Regions from separate parts of the Homo sapiens genome. Here all the other regions are linked to region 1. The links are contacts of gene promoters, found by promoter capture Hi-C in human tissues and cell types (Jung and others, 2019). All regions are on one chromosome and are shown on one strand. The core of a region is centred on a gene start or on the middle of the fragment in contact, and the rest is flanking DNA. Distances in the headings are between cores, read along the strand shown.

Region 1 (4,191 bases), core at 841-3,340:
CTTGTAAGAAGACCTATTTAAGATAGGAAAACCAAATGAAGATTTTTACTCATTTTTCTCTGAATGCCCAACTGCATTTCTCTGAATATTTTACCTGCCATAACGATATGGGTTCTTTTCCTTTTTTTTTTTTTTTTCTTTTTTCTGAAACGGAGTCTCGCTCTGTTGCCCAGGCTGGAGTGCAATGGCGCAATCTCGGCTCACTGCAACGTCTGCCTTCTGGGTTCAAATGATTCTCATGCCTCAGCCTCCCGAGTAGGTGGGATCACAGGTGCCCACCACCACGCCCAGCTAATTTTTCTATTTTTAATAGAGACAGGGTTTCACCAGTTTGGCCAGGCTGGTCTCGAACTCCTTACCTCAGGTGATCCTCAGGCCTCGGCTTCCCAAAGTGCTGAGATTACAGGCGTGAGCCACCGCACCCAGCCTCCAGATACGAGTTGTTTTTTTCGAGTATTACTTTGTTAACTTTTACCCCAACCATTCATTTTCCCAATATTTTCAAACCCCAAATCACCCAGACACAATAAATGAGGTCTCTTTTCTTATCCATAGTGTCGGTATGAAAGTTTATTTTGAAGGTTTTTTTTTTTTTTTTTAGACGGAGTCTAGCTCTGTCTCCATGCTGCAGGGCAGTGGCGCGGTCTCGGCTCACTGCAACCTCCGCCTCCCGGGTTCCCGCGATTCTCCTGCCTCAGTCTCCCGAGTAGCTGGGACTACAGGCACACGCCACCACGCCCAGCTAATTTTTGTTTGTTTGTTTATTTATTTATTATTATTTTTGAGACGGAGTCTCGCTCTGTCATCAGGCTGGAGTGCCATTGGAGTGCAATGGCACGATCTCGGCTCACTGCAATCTCCGCCTCCCGGGTTCAAGCAATTCCCCTGCTTCAGCCTCCCGTGTAACTGGGACTACAGGCACGTGCCACCACCCCCAGCCAATTTTTTGTATTTTAGTAGAGACGGGGTTTCACCATGTTGGCCAGGATGGTCTCCATCTCCTGACCTCGTGATCTGCCCGCCTCGGCCTCCCAAAGTGCTTACAGGAGGACTACAGGCGCGAGCCACCGCGCCCGGCCAATTTTTGTATTTTTAGTAGAGACGGAGTTTCACCATGTTGGCCAGGATGGTCTCCATCTCCTGACCTCGTGATCCGCCAGTCTCGGCTTCCCAAAGTGTTGGGATTACAGGTGTGAGCCACCGCACCCGGCATATTTTGAGTTTTGAGTGGAGGATTAGACAGTCTTCTTCCTTCCCAAATTTGATTATGGGCTCCCTTTAGCCTTTTTCTTTGTTTTCTGTCTTTTTTCCACCACCACCCCGCCCCCGAGGCGCAGTCTCAAGAGGTCCTGAGAACATGTGCCCTGCTCTCTGTTTTAAGGATTAAAATAACTGTCGAGTTACATTGAATCTTTTTTGCCTATTCCATTTGGCTAGGTTAATTCCAGACCTTACACAAACATGTGCAGCTCTTACAAAATGTAGGTGAAGACAACATTTTTCTAACCATTCGGCTTCATGGGCTGTCACAGGAGAACTAAGTGCATGAAAAACCTTTCACAACATTGAAAGAAATTTTAAAAATCTGGTTGAAACACAATTAAAAATCCACAAGAGGGAGATGCTTGCTAAACCGTCAGAAAATAATTCCCTCGAGGGACCTGAGAGAGGAGCCTGGAGCCTTAGGAACAGCCACTGGGTCAGCCACGGGATTAAGGGTGGGAGGGAGCAGGAGTATATAGAGACGGGGGCTTGGTGGAGGAGTACAGTTGAAGGGAAAAGCGGGATGGGTTTCGTGCCTCTGGCAGCGAAGCGTGTACTTGGTCTAAGATCTTGAGCAGAAGGTAAGAGCGTGTTGCCAAAGCAGAGCTCAGTGCTCCCGATATATCTTCTGGTAGTCCCAGAAGAAATGGGGGTGGGTTGCTTTGAAGGCACTTCCGCTTAGCAACCCCACGCGGTTGCTAAGGAGGGGGCAGCCGTGGGGATAACCCGGAAGTGATGGTGTCAGTTTAACGCTGCCTGCCCAAAGTTTGTCCTATTAGGCCCGCCAGGGTACTCTGCGACTCCGGGACGAGGGCGGGGCCGCGCTAGTGGTTCCGGTTCGGCTCCAGCCGCCCCTCGGCTCCTCGCCTTCCCCCTCCCGTCCGCCTTCTCCCCTCCCTCCCGCTCCTGGGAAAGAGAGAAACCACCGCTGCGGGTGGGTAGAGAAGCACTTGGCGCCTCGGGGAGGGGACCGCGCCCGCCTCATTTGCGCCTTGCAGCACTGCTGGACCAGGTATCTGCCCGGCTTCGTCGGGGTTCTGTAGGCTGAAGTCTGAGGGGGTGTGTGTGTGTCTGAGGGGGTTGGTGGGGGGCCCTTTCCTGGGCGTGGGTGGGGGACGCCGTGATCCCGGGTGGGGCGCAGGCTGGCGTTTGTGTCTGTGGAGGGTTGCGGGGGCGGAATGGAGGGGCTGAGGGACACAGCGGGTGGAGAGTTTCGGTTAGCGGGGTAGAGGTAGGCGGAGGAGGCGCCCCTTCCGAGAAACTGACTCTAGCCGGTGTGGACCGGGAGTTTGCCACCTGGAGGGCTTACTCTGAAAGGGGGAGCATCCCCCGGGAGCCAAAAGGAGGGCACAGATCTCGTCAGGGTGACTGGGGCTATCCCGTGCTTCCATTGCCCTCTTTCCCTACCCACCCCGCTGGGACAGAGCTGGACTTCGAAGGTTGTGGGGGTTCTGAGTCGACTGGGTACCGCGGGGAGCCGCCCTTGGCGGAGCTTAGGGCACAAGAGTGGGTAATGAGACTTTCCTCTACCCAACTTCCGTACGCTTCCCCCACTTCTTCCTTTACTGTTTCCTCGCCCCCACGTCCTACAGGAGCAATGTCCCCCAAGTGGGCAGGCATCACAATGTAAAAGAGAGTGGAACTGGGTTTGTTGCCCCTAAATGACACTTAAGATGTTTGGAAAGTGCCTGAATGACATATTCAACCAAGTCTCCCAGCTCGATATTAATTCCGGTATAAATTACCTTAGAAAAGTGGAATTCTGAAAAGCATTTAACAATAGGCTAGTCCAGGTGTAGTCTTGTGTAGTAGATGTACGTGTTTATTTAAAAAGAATGGACTGGGGAAACCATATAGATGTATCACAGGTCTAGGCAAGACATGTTGAGGCAAGGCTTTTGCAGCCTCTTTCTTACCTGCCAGTAAACCTGTCCTAATTTAAATGAAGTAGAAAGATCCTCTTCATTTTTGTTTCAATCAGTGACTGAATACTAGGTGCTGTGTAGTGATGTCTCAGAACAGATATGTGAATTTTCAGAGAGAGAATGAATGTTCTGCTGTTGAGCCTGTGTCTTAATCTTTTAAGGAGATAATTGCGGTCAAGTGGAAGTATTGACTTTCAGGCAGATAAATCTTGGGTTGAACCTAGACTATGCCAGTTGCTAGTTACTGACCTTGGGCAAGTCATGGAACCTACCAGAGCTTTTGTTTCTTCATAAGTAGTATGAGTTAAAATTCTTACCTGTATTATAAGTAACATCCCATTTTAAACGGAACCACCTTTGAATTAGAAGATAAATTATTACCATTAATCATACACAGTCAAGGCAGCCCAGTTTTGTGAAACGAGGTTTGAGATAGGAAAGCAACCGGATAATTTTGAAAAAAAAATGCATACAATAGGACTTTCAGTGTCTTCTCGAAATTGATCGTAGGTAGCATGAAATTCAGTTATCAGTAGTTTCTTAAAATTCAAAATAATAAAGTAGAATATGGCCCATTTATTGAAATGAGCAAAATATATTTTATAGATTTTTCTCAGCTACACCATATTGGTGTTTATAGTATGGATTAACACGAAATACATGAAAAAGTAATGTATGTAAATCTTAACATCACATGTCTCTTTAAAGAGAATTAAAATTGGGGTGTAAAATAGAAGGTACTTGTTTTTTGTTTGTTTGTTTGTTTGTTTGAGACAGAGTCTTGCTCTATCACCCAGGCTGGAGTGCAGTGGCACGATCTCGGCTCAGTGCAACCTCTACCTCCAGGATTCAAGCGATTCTCCTGCCTCAGCCTCCTGAGTAGCTGGGATCACAGGCGCCTGCCACTACACCCAGCTAATTTTTTGTATTTTTAGTAGAGAGAGGGTTTTACCATGTTGGTCAGGTTGGTCTTGAACTCCTGACCTTGTAATCCATCCGCCTT
Region 2 (4,191 bases), core at 1,145-3,644, 170 kb after region 1:
GCCCAAGGTGGGCAGATCACAAGGTCAAGTGATTGAGACCATCCTGGCCAACATGGTGAAACCCCGTCTCTACTAAAAATACAAAAATTAGCTGGGCATGGTGGCGCATGCCTATAGTTCCAGCTACTCAGGAGGCTGAGGCAGGAGAACGCTTGAACCTGGGAGGCAGAGGTTGCAGTGAGCCGAGATCACGCCATTGCACTCCAGCCTGGGTGATGGACTGAGATTCCGTCTCAAAAAAAAAGAGAAAAAAATCATTGCTCTTAGGAGCCAGGCACAGTGGCTAACACCGATAATTCCAGCATTTTGAGAAGCCTAGGCAGGAGGATCACTTGAGGCCAGGAGTTCTTGACCATCCTGGCAATATAGCAAGATATTGTCTCTACACAAAACAGAAAAATTGGCTAGGTGTGGTGCTATGTGCCTATAGTCCTGGCTGCCAGGAAGGCTTAGGCGGGAGGATCGCTTGAGCCCAGGAGTTTGAGGCTGCAGTGAGCCATGATCGTACCACTGCATTTCAGCCTGGGTGACAGAGCAAGACCCTGTCTCTTTAAAACAAAACAAAACAAAACAAAACAAAAAACTCAATTTTATTTCTCAGGCACACTTTCTTGTGAAGCCACATGAGGATGTGTGTTATCAGAATTAATAGAACAAGAGAGTAGCAGCTGTGTGCAATAGCTCATGCCTGTAATCCCAGCACTTTGGGAGGCCGAGGTGAGCAGATCACAAGGTCAGGAGTTCAAGACCAGCCTGGCCACTATGGTGAAACTCCATCTCTACTAAAAAGTAATTTTAAAAAATTAGCTGGGCGTGGTGGTGGGTACCTGTAGTCCCAGCTACTTGGGAGGCTGAGGCAGGAGAATCACTTAAACTCGGGAGGCAGAAGTTGCAGTGAGCTGAGATTGCGCCCCTGCACTCCAGCCTGGGCGACACAACAAGACTCTATCTCAAAAAAAATAAAAAGAAAGGAATATCTGGGATCCAGGAAACCAGAGATCCAGCACAGGAAAGAAACAAAGGGAATCCCTAATATAATAATAAAGTTAGGAGATCCTGGGATCTGTACACCAATAGAAGAGAGCAGCTTGTTCAAAACAGAGCTGCAAGAGCAGCTCTTTGGTATTTTCCTTTTTAACATTATGGTTTATCCTTGTCTTTTTATAATTACAAAATAAGCATATTTCTTTTTCTCTCTTTTTTTTTTTTTTTTTCGAGATGGAGTCTGGCTCTGTCATCCAGGCTGGAGTGCAGTAGCGCGATCTTGGCTTACTGCAACTGCTGTTTCCCGGGTTCAAGCGATTCTCCTGTCAGCCTCTAGAGCAGCTGGGATTACAGGCACGTGCCACCACACCCAGCTAATTTTTGGATATTTAGTAGAGATGGGTTTTTGCCATGTCATCCAGGCTGGTCTCAAACTCCTGACCTCAAGTGATCCACCTGCCTTGGCCTCGCAAAGTCCTGGGATTACAGATGTGAGCCACCGTGCCTGGCCTCGTAAAGTGTCCTTTAGAAATGGATCCAACTGAGGTGTCTTTGGCAACTCTTTTGAAACATGCAACTTCCTCTACTCCCTATAAACTAAGTTTTACCAGCTTCCTTGGCACTTAGATAGAGGACAGGCAGTTACACCATTTACCTAATACTATGTTCAGCTCTGCTGCTCCTCATTACTTTGGCCTCTTTGGGCTGACACTGTTTTTAGCATACCTTTTGCAAACCAGATTAACAATACTTTCCTAACACAACAGATGTCCACATATTTCTGAGTTGTCTCACTTGCCAGAGGTAATGTAGTAAAATCATGTTTGGCCTAACCTGGGTGACTTGCAGACACCATGACCCTGGGAGGGAGTGCAGAATCTAAGACAAGAAAAGTTTGCTCTGATAAGGCACATGAAGGCTCCTGTTCCAACATATTTAATGGGCAGACCCCCATGGTTCTCATCCTTCCAGTATTTCCACAGATCTTTTATGTGTGGAAGGCCTAAATGCAAGAAGATAATATATTTTCCCTTTCAAAAAGATTCCTCTAAAGTTGTCTGAATTAAAATGTTTAGGGAGCTTTTAGAAATGTTCAGGACCAAGTAAGGACATAAGACTTAGAATGACACATGAGTTGAAGTACTGTTTCCTTTGGTACACAGCTCTGATTTCTCCTCACAGTGACATTTTGAGAAATGAAACTAATAACCCAAATTATTGAGACTCCTAAAAGGGATATTACCAGGTCTGAACGTCAAAACAGTCCTTCATCTTAGTCTTTCTCATGAGTAATGCTTTAAGATATTAATTGGTCTTGTTTGGTATAGCCAGAGTAATGAGCGATTAATTTTAATAGTGATTAAAGCAAAATAAATGTCTATTTGAAGTATGCAAATCTTTTTTTTTTTTTTTTTTGAGACAGAGTTTCGCATTGTTGTCCAGGCTGGGGTGCAGTGGCATGATCTTGGCTCACTACAACGTCCGCCTCCCAGGTTCAAGCAATTCTTGTGCCTCAGCCTCCTGAGTAGCTGGGATTACAGGCGCCCGCCACCACGCCCAGCTGATTTTTTGTATTTTAATAGAGACGGGGTTTCACCATGTTGTCCAGGCTGGTCTCGAACTGCTGAGCTCAGGCAATCCACCTGTCTCGGCCTCCCAAAGTGCTAGGATTACAGGCACGAGCCACCGTGCCTGGCCGCAAATAAAGCTTTTTATAATGAAGCTTATTTTTTATTATCTTTTATAATGACATTATACTAAAAATTTATTTATTTATTTATTTATTTTTTGAGACGAAGTCTCGCTCTGTCACCCAGGCTGGAGTGCAGTGGCATGATCTCTGCTCACTGCAAGCTACGCCTCCCAGGTTCACACCATTCTCCTGCCTCAGCCTCCCGAGTAGCTGGGACTACAGACGTGTGCCACCATGCCCGGCTAATTTTTTGTATTTTTAGTAGAGACGGAGTTTCACCGTGTTAGTCAGGATGGTCTTAATCTCCTGACCTCGTGATCCGCCCACCTCGGCCTCCCAAAATGCTGGGATTACAGGCGTGAGCCACTGCACCCGGCCATAAAGTTATACTAAAAATTTAATAGAAAAAAAATACCAGCCAGATCACTTGGGGTCAGGAGTTCAAGACCAGCCTGGCCAATATGGTGAAACCCCATTTCTACTAAAAAATACAAAAATTAGCCAGATGTGGTGGTGCATACCTGTAGTCCCAGCTACTCGGGAGGCTGAGGCAGGAGAATCGCTTGAACTCGGGAGGTAGAGGTTGCAGTGAGCCAAGATCACGCCACTGCACTGCAGCCTGGGCAACAGAGCGAGATTCCATCTCCAAAAAAAAAAAAAAGAAAAACATAAAGATAATATTGTTTAAAATGTCAGTAATTTGTTATTCATAAGATTCTTTTTAATTCTTTAAAATTTATTTTCTAAACATCATTGTATTTAATTCCCTTCATATTTATGAAGTTGATAGGATCATGGTCATTTGCCTTGTCTTATGGAATTAGAAAATAGGGCTCACAGAGGATGTTAATGGTAGAACAAGGCCTAGAATCCAACTCTTCCATCACTTACACAGTGTTTGTTCCACTGCCTGCAGTTCAGTAGTTTGACAAACCAGACCTCCAACCTGAAATAATTAAACGGATGCTGTGAAGGCCCAGATGTGTAGCCTTTAAGTCTTAGGTATGTTTTTGGTACAATTAAGTTTAAAAGTAGAGAATGGAGGCTCTGTTTATGTCTCATTCATTTGAGACCACATGCTCATTGATACAGACAAGATGTCTAGTCTGTAAAATGGGGATAACCTCTTATTCCTTAGATTGCCCAAGGACAGTGCTTATGGCCCAAGTGGCAATTTGTAGCGAGGAGAATTTAGGAAGTATAAGCCATGTGAAACGCTGTGAGCAGGCCCCATGACCCAGAGTCACCAGGTAATTCTCAGTGGTGATGCTTACTAATGTTTCATTCGTGTGAGTAGAAGCCAAGACATTTTATTTAACGTCTTGTCTAGTTCCTGAATTGTCCACTAGAAACTTACTATGTTTCCTGTAACCTTTGTGCTCACAGAATGAGTTTACCAGTATTATCACTGGTATGCAGCCAGAATATGTCCACAAGAAGCAAATGAAGCACTGAGGAAATTAACAGGATAGCATTAGAGTGAGGAGCTGTGGTTTTCCAATCCATATACCCTC
Region 3 (4,191 bases), core at 1-2,500, 140 kb after region 1:
TTTGAAGACGGTGTTAATGATAGCCATCCAGCTGGTAAGTTGGAATTGCTCTTCTAGAAGAGAATAAGCTGGTTCCTCAGCCACATCCTTGTGGGCCTTTTGGTGATTTACTAGCCGTAGCAACACATCAAGAATTAGTACTCACAGGCTTGATGGCATTCTGGGAAGCTGGCTGGGGCAAAAAGGGTAAATTCAGAGAAGTCACACTACATCTGCAATTTGCTCTATTTTAAGACTTTGCACCTTGGAGCAATGCTCTGCCCTTAACTGAAGAGGAAGTATATAATTTAGATTAGGGAGAAAGAGGTCGATTAGATGGAGTTGTAAAAATGTGAATAATTTATTTGATTTTGTTTTGTTTTGTTTTTCATTTTTGAGACAGGGTCTCTGTCACCCAGGCTAGAGTACAGTAGCATGATCATAGCTCAGTGCAACCTCAAACTCCTAGGCTCAAGTGATTCTCCTGCCTCAGCCTCTCCAGCAGCTAGGACTGCAGGTGCCATGCCAGCTCATTTAAAAAAAAAAAAGTGTTTTGGAGACAGACTCCCACTATGTTGCCCAGGCTTGTCTAAACTGGTCTCAAGCAGTCCTCCCACCTCGGCCTCCCAATGTGCTAGGATTACAGGCATGAACCACTGCACCCAGCCTATTTATGTGTTTTAAATATAGCTGTAAGGTTTTGTCATGTCCTATCTCTCCCTTCACTGTTGCAACCAAGAAAAGATTGATGTTATAACCCATTGCACTAACACTCAGATTCAAAATTGTGTGACTAGGAATTTGCTGTAGTTCTCAGGCCTCCAGTTCTCTCAGAGACAAATTTCAGCTGAAGAGGCAGCTCTTGTAGCTCCTACCAAATTATACACAAATACCAGTTTAAGAAGCAGTTCCAACAGTTCCTTTGAGAAGTTTGTCACAAGCCCTTTGGGGAAGGATGCAAATATATCTTCATTTGTTTAAAATGGTAATGGTCTCTCCCACTGTCCTATAAAAATTTGGAAATGTTAGATAATTGACTTTGACTTTTGAGCCCCAAATTCAAATATCTGAGCTTCTCTTTCTCTACTAAAAGTTAGTAGAAAAGGGCTGGGAATGGTGGCTCACGCCTGTAATCCCAGCACTTTGGGAGGCCAAGGTGGGCGGATCATGAGGTCAGGAGATCGAGACCATCCTGGCTAACGCAGTGAAACCCCATCTCTACTAAAAATACAAAAAATTAGCTGGGCGTGGTGGCGAGCGCCTTTAGTCCCAGCTACTCAGGAGGCTGAGGCAGGAGAATGGCGTGAACCCAGGAGGTGGAGCTTGCAGTGAGCCGAGATCGTGCCACTGCACTCCAGCCTGGGCGACAGAGCAAGACTCCATCTCAAAAAAAAAAAAAAAAAAAAAAAAAAGTTAGTAGAAAAGCTTAGTAGATAGAAATACTTAATAAAATTTGAAATGCTTTTATGATTATTATTTTTGGTTATATTTAACTTAACATAAAAACTATAGCCCTGGCCAGGCATGGTGGCTCGTGTCTATAATCCCAGCACTTTGTGAGGCTGAGGTGGGAGGGTCACTTGAGGCCAGGAGTTTGAGACCAGCGTAGGCAACATAGACCCCATCTCTACAAAAATAATCTGAAAATAAATTTAAAACAACAACGATGAACTGTTTCGGCCAGGCATGGTGGCTCATGCCTGTAATCCTAGCATTTTGGGAGGCCGAGGAGGACGGATCACCCAAGGTCAGGAGTTTGAGACCAGTGTGGCCAACATGGTGAAACCCTGTCTCTACTAAAAATACAAAAATTAGCCAGGCATGGTGGCATGTGCATGTAATCCCAGCTACCCGGGAGGCTGAGGCACGAGAATTGCTAGAACCCAGGAGGCTGAGGCTGCACTCCACCCTGGGTGACAGAGCAAGACTCCGTCTCAAAAATAATAATAATAATAATGAACTGTTTCCCTGTCTCTGCTGCTAATTAGCTATGTGATGTCAGGCCAGTATTAACTTCTCTGGGCCTCACAACATCGAAAACTGGGTTGGGTAGTCTTGTCCAAATAAGCATAAGAAGATGTGGGCAGAAGGTGAATGTAGCAGTGGCATTTGTCTCAAAGGTCACCAACAGTTTGATATCCTACCTGGGAATACTTCTTTTGTCTCAAATGCTTAATTTTCTGACGTAGCATATAAACAACTGATTTCATTTGTCATTTGCAAATTGTGACATTATGAGGTAAAATTGAGCTATCATTTTAGCAGACCTGTACTATCCCACTTTTTTTCCTAGTCTTGATATTTGTTGTGTACGTATTTATAGCAAAATATTTTTTTGTTTACAAGTCAGTGAAGTGACTCAGGGCGGTGAAAGGAGATGAATTTTACTGTTATTTCAATAATTAAAACCTTGGTCTGGCTAAAGAAACTGTTTTGATGTATTTTCCTGATATACTTCTTTACAGTCTTTCTATCATTTGTTTCTCTTTCAGCTTTCTCGAATGGAATACGTGCACTCAAAGAACCTCATTTACCGAGATGTCAAGCCAGAGAACTTCCTGATTGGTCGACAAGGCAATAAGAAAGAGCATGTTATACACATTATAGACTTTGGACTGGCCAAGGAATACATTGACCCCGAAACCAAAAAACACATACCTTATAGGGAACACAAAAGTTTAACTGGAACTGCAAGATATATGTCTATCAACACGCATCTTGGCAAAGGTGTGTTTTTTTCTGTTCCATGAAAGGGGCGAGTCATTAGAACAGTTTATTATTTCTGTAACATTATATCCCCATTGTGCATTACAACTTGTGGTTTTTATTGTTTCACAAGGTTGAGTGATTTTTATACATGAGAAGTTGAGATGGTAAGTTAATGACTTTTCAAAGAATCCTATAGACTATGCATAGGTTCTTAATTCTTTACACTGTTTCCAAATGTTTAGTTTCTGAGCAGTGTGAGTACTTGAATTATTGTAAAAAGAGGATAGCATTTTAATGAGTTTAGTAATGAATTTGGTATTTACTTATGTATGACCCTATATATGATAGTCCTGAAGAGGACATCAGGCTGGGTCAGCGGTGGGGAAGAGTGCCTCACTAAAAATGGAGTAGACTTCTGTTCACTGCACATAGTTCTGCACAGAAGTCTTCAAGGAAGAGCTTCTGTCTTATTCAGTGAAAATATACTTGGTTTACCATTAGTCTTGCAATTTACTCAGGATAAACAACCTGCACAAATATTGTTAAATGCTCTAATCAAGGCAGAAGACCTTACCTGTGAGGAACTAGCCCAAGGGGGAGAGTATTTGTCAGAGAAGCCTAAGGAACAGTGGGGAGACCAAGCAGGCAGAGCCCTAGGCTTATCCACTTCAAAAAAGCCTCCCTTTTTTATGTTTCATATATTGGGCTTCCATGGAAGATTCTATTTGAAGAAAAGACTCCTAGGTGATTGAAAAAAACATGTTTGAAAATCAACATTCTAGAGAGTAGACAAGCAGAATATTCTCAGATTCCATACTCCTAGGCAGAAATAATTATAAAATATTCTTAAATATTAGTGAACTATTGCACACTAAGATGTATTTTATTTTATTTATTTTTTTGAGATGTAGTCTCGCTCTATCACCCAGGCTGGAGTGCAGTGGCACGATTTCGGCTCACTGCAACCTCTGCCTCGCGGGTTCAAGCAATTCTCCTGCCTCAGCCTCCCGAGTAGCTGGGATTACAGGCATGCATCACCACACCTGGCTAATTTTTGTCCTTTTAATAGAGACGGGATTTCACCATGTTGGCCAGGCTGGTCTTGAACTCCTGGCCTTAAGTGATCTGCCTGCCTCGGCCTCCCAAAGTGCTGGGATTACAGGTGTGAGCCACCGTGCCCAGCATATTTATTTTATTTTTAGAGACAGAATCTCACTCTCACTCAGGCTGGAGTGCAGCAGTGTGATCATAGCTCACTATAACCTCAGTCACCTGAGCTGGAGAGATCTTTCTCAGCCTCAGTAGCTAGGGTTACAGGCGCATGCCATCATGCCCAGCTAACTTCTAAATTTTTTTATAGAGATAGAGTCTCACTGTGTTCCCCAGGCGGGTCTCAAACTCCTGGTTTCAAGAGATCCTGTTGCCTCAGCCTCCCAACACACTGGGATTATAGATGTGAGCCACCATGCCTGGCCTGCACATTAATAAGTATTTTAAAGACTA

What was found. Contacts are between HindIII fragments. The study calls those that stand out against the background at their distance.
Region 2: a contact is called between a fragment that was not itself captured here and the fragment with the promoter of CSNK1G1 in region 1, in 1 of the 25 tissues and cell types used here (aorta).
Region 3: a contact is called between a fragment that was not itself captured here and the fragment with the promoter of CSNK1G1 in region 1, in 1 of the 25 tissues and cell types used here (dorsolateral prefrontal cortex).

The regions. Positions count from the first base shown.
Region 1 is chr15:64,354,072-64,358,262 of GRCh38, reverse strand. It overlaps CSNK1G1 (casein kinase 1 gamma 1), which reads left to right and starts at 2,090. Exons shown (of 12, transcript NM_022048.5): 1 at 2,090-2,275. RefSeq lists silencers at 2,155-2,204, 2,315-2,374, 2,765-2,824. The HindIII fragment of the contact is 13,823 bases long and covers 1-4,191 here.
Region 2 is chr15:64,182,886-64,187,076 of GRCh38, reverse strand. The region is part of intron 10 of CSNK1G1 (casein kinase 1 gamma 1); the gene reads left to right. Among named protein-coding and RNA genes, the nearest start is that of PPIB, 22 kb to the right of the region's middle. The HindIII fragment of the contact is 3,297 bases long and covers 746-4,042 here.
Region 3 is chr15:64,212,405-64,216,595 of GRCh38, reverse strand. It overlaps CSNK1G1 (casein kinase 1 gamma 1), which reads left to right. Exons shown (of 12, transcript NM_022048.5): 5 at 1-34; 6 at 2,472-2,706. Among named protein-coding and RNA genes, the nearest start is that of PPIB, 51 kb to the right of the region's middle. The HindIII fragment of the contact is 4,787 bases long and covers 1-3,643 here.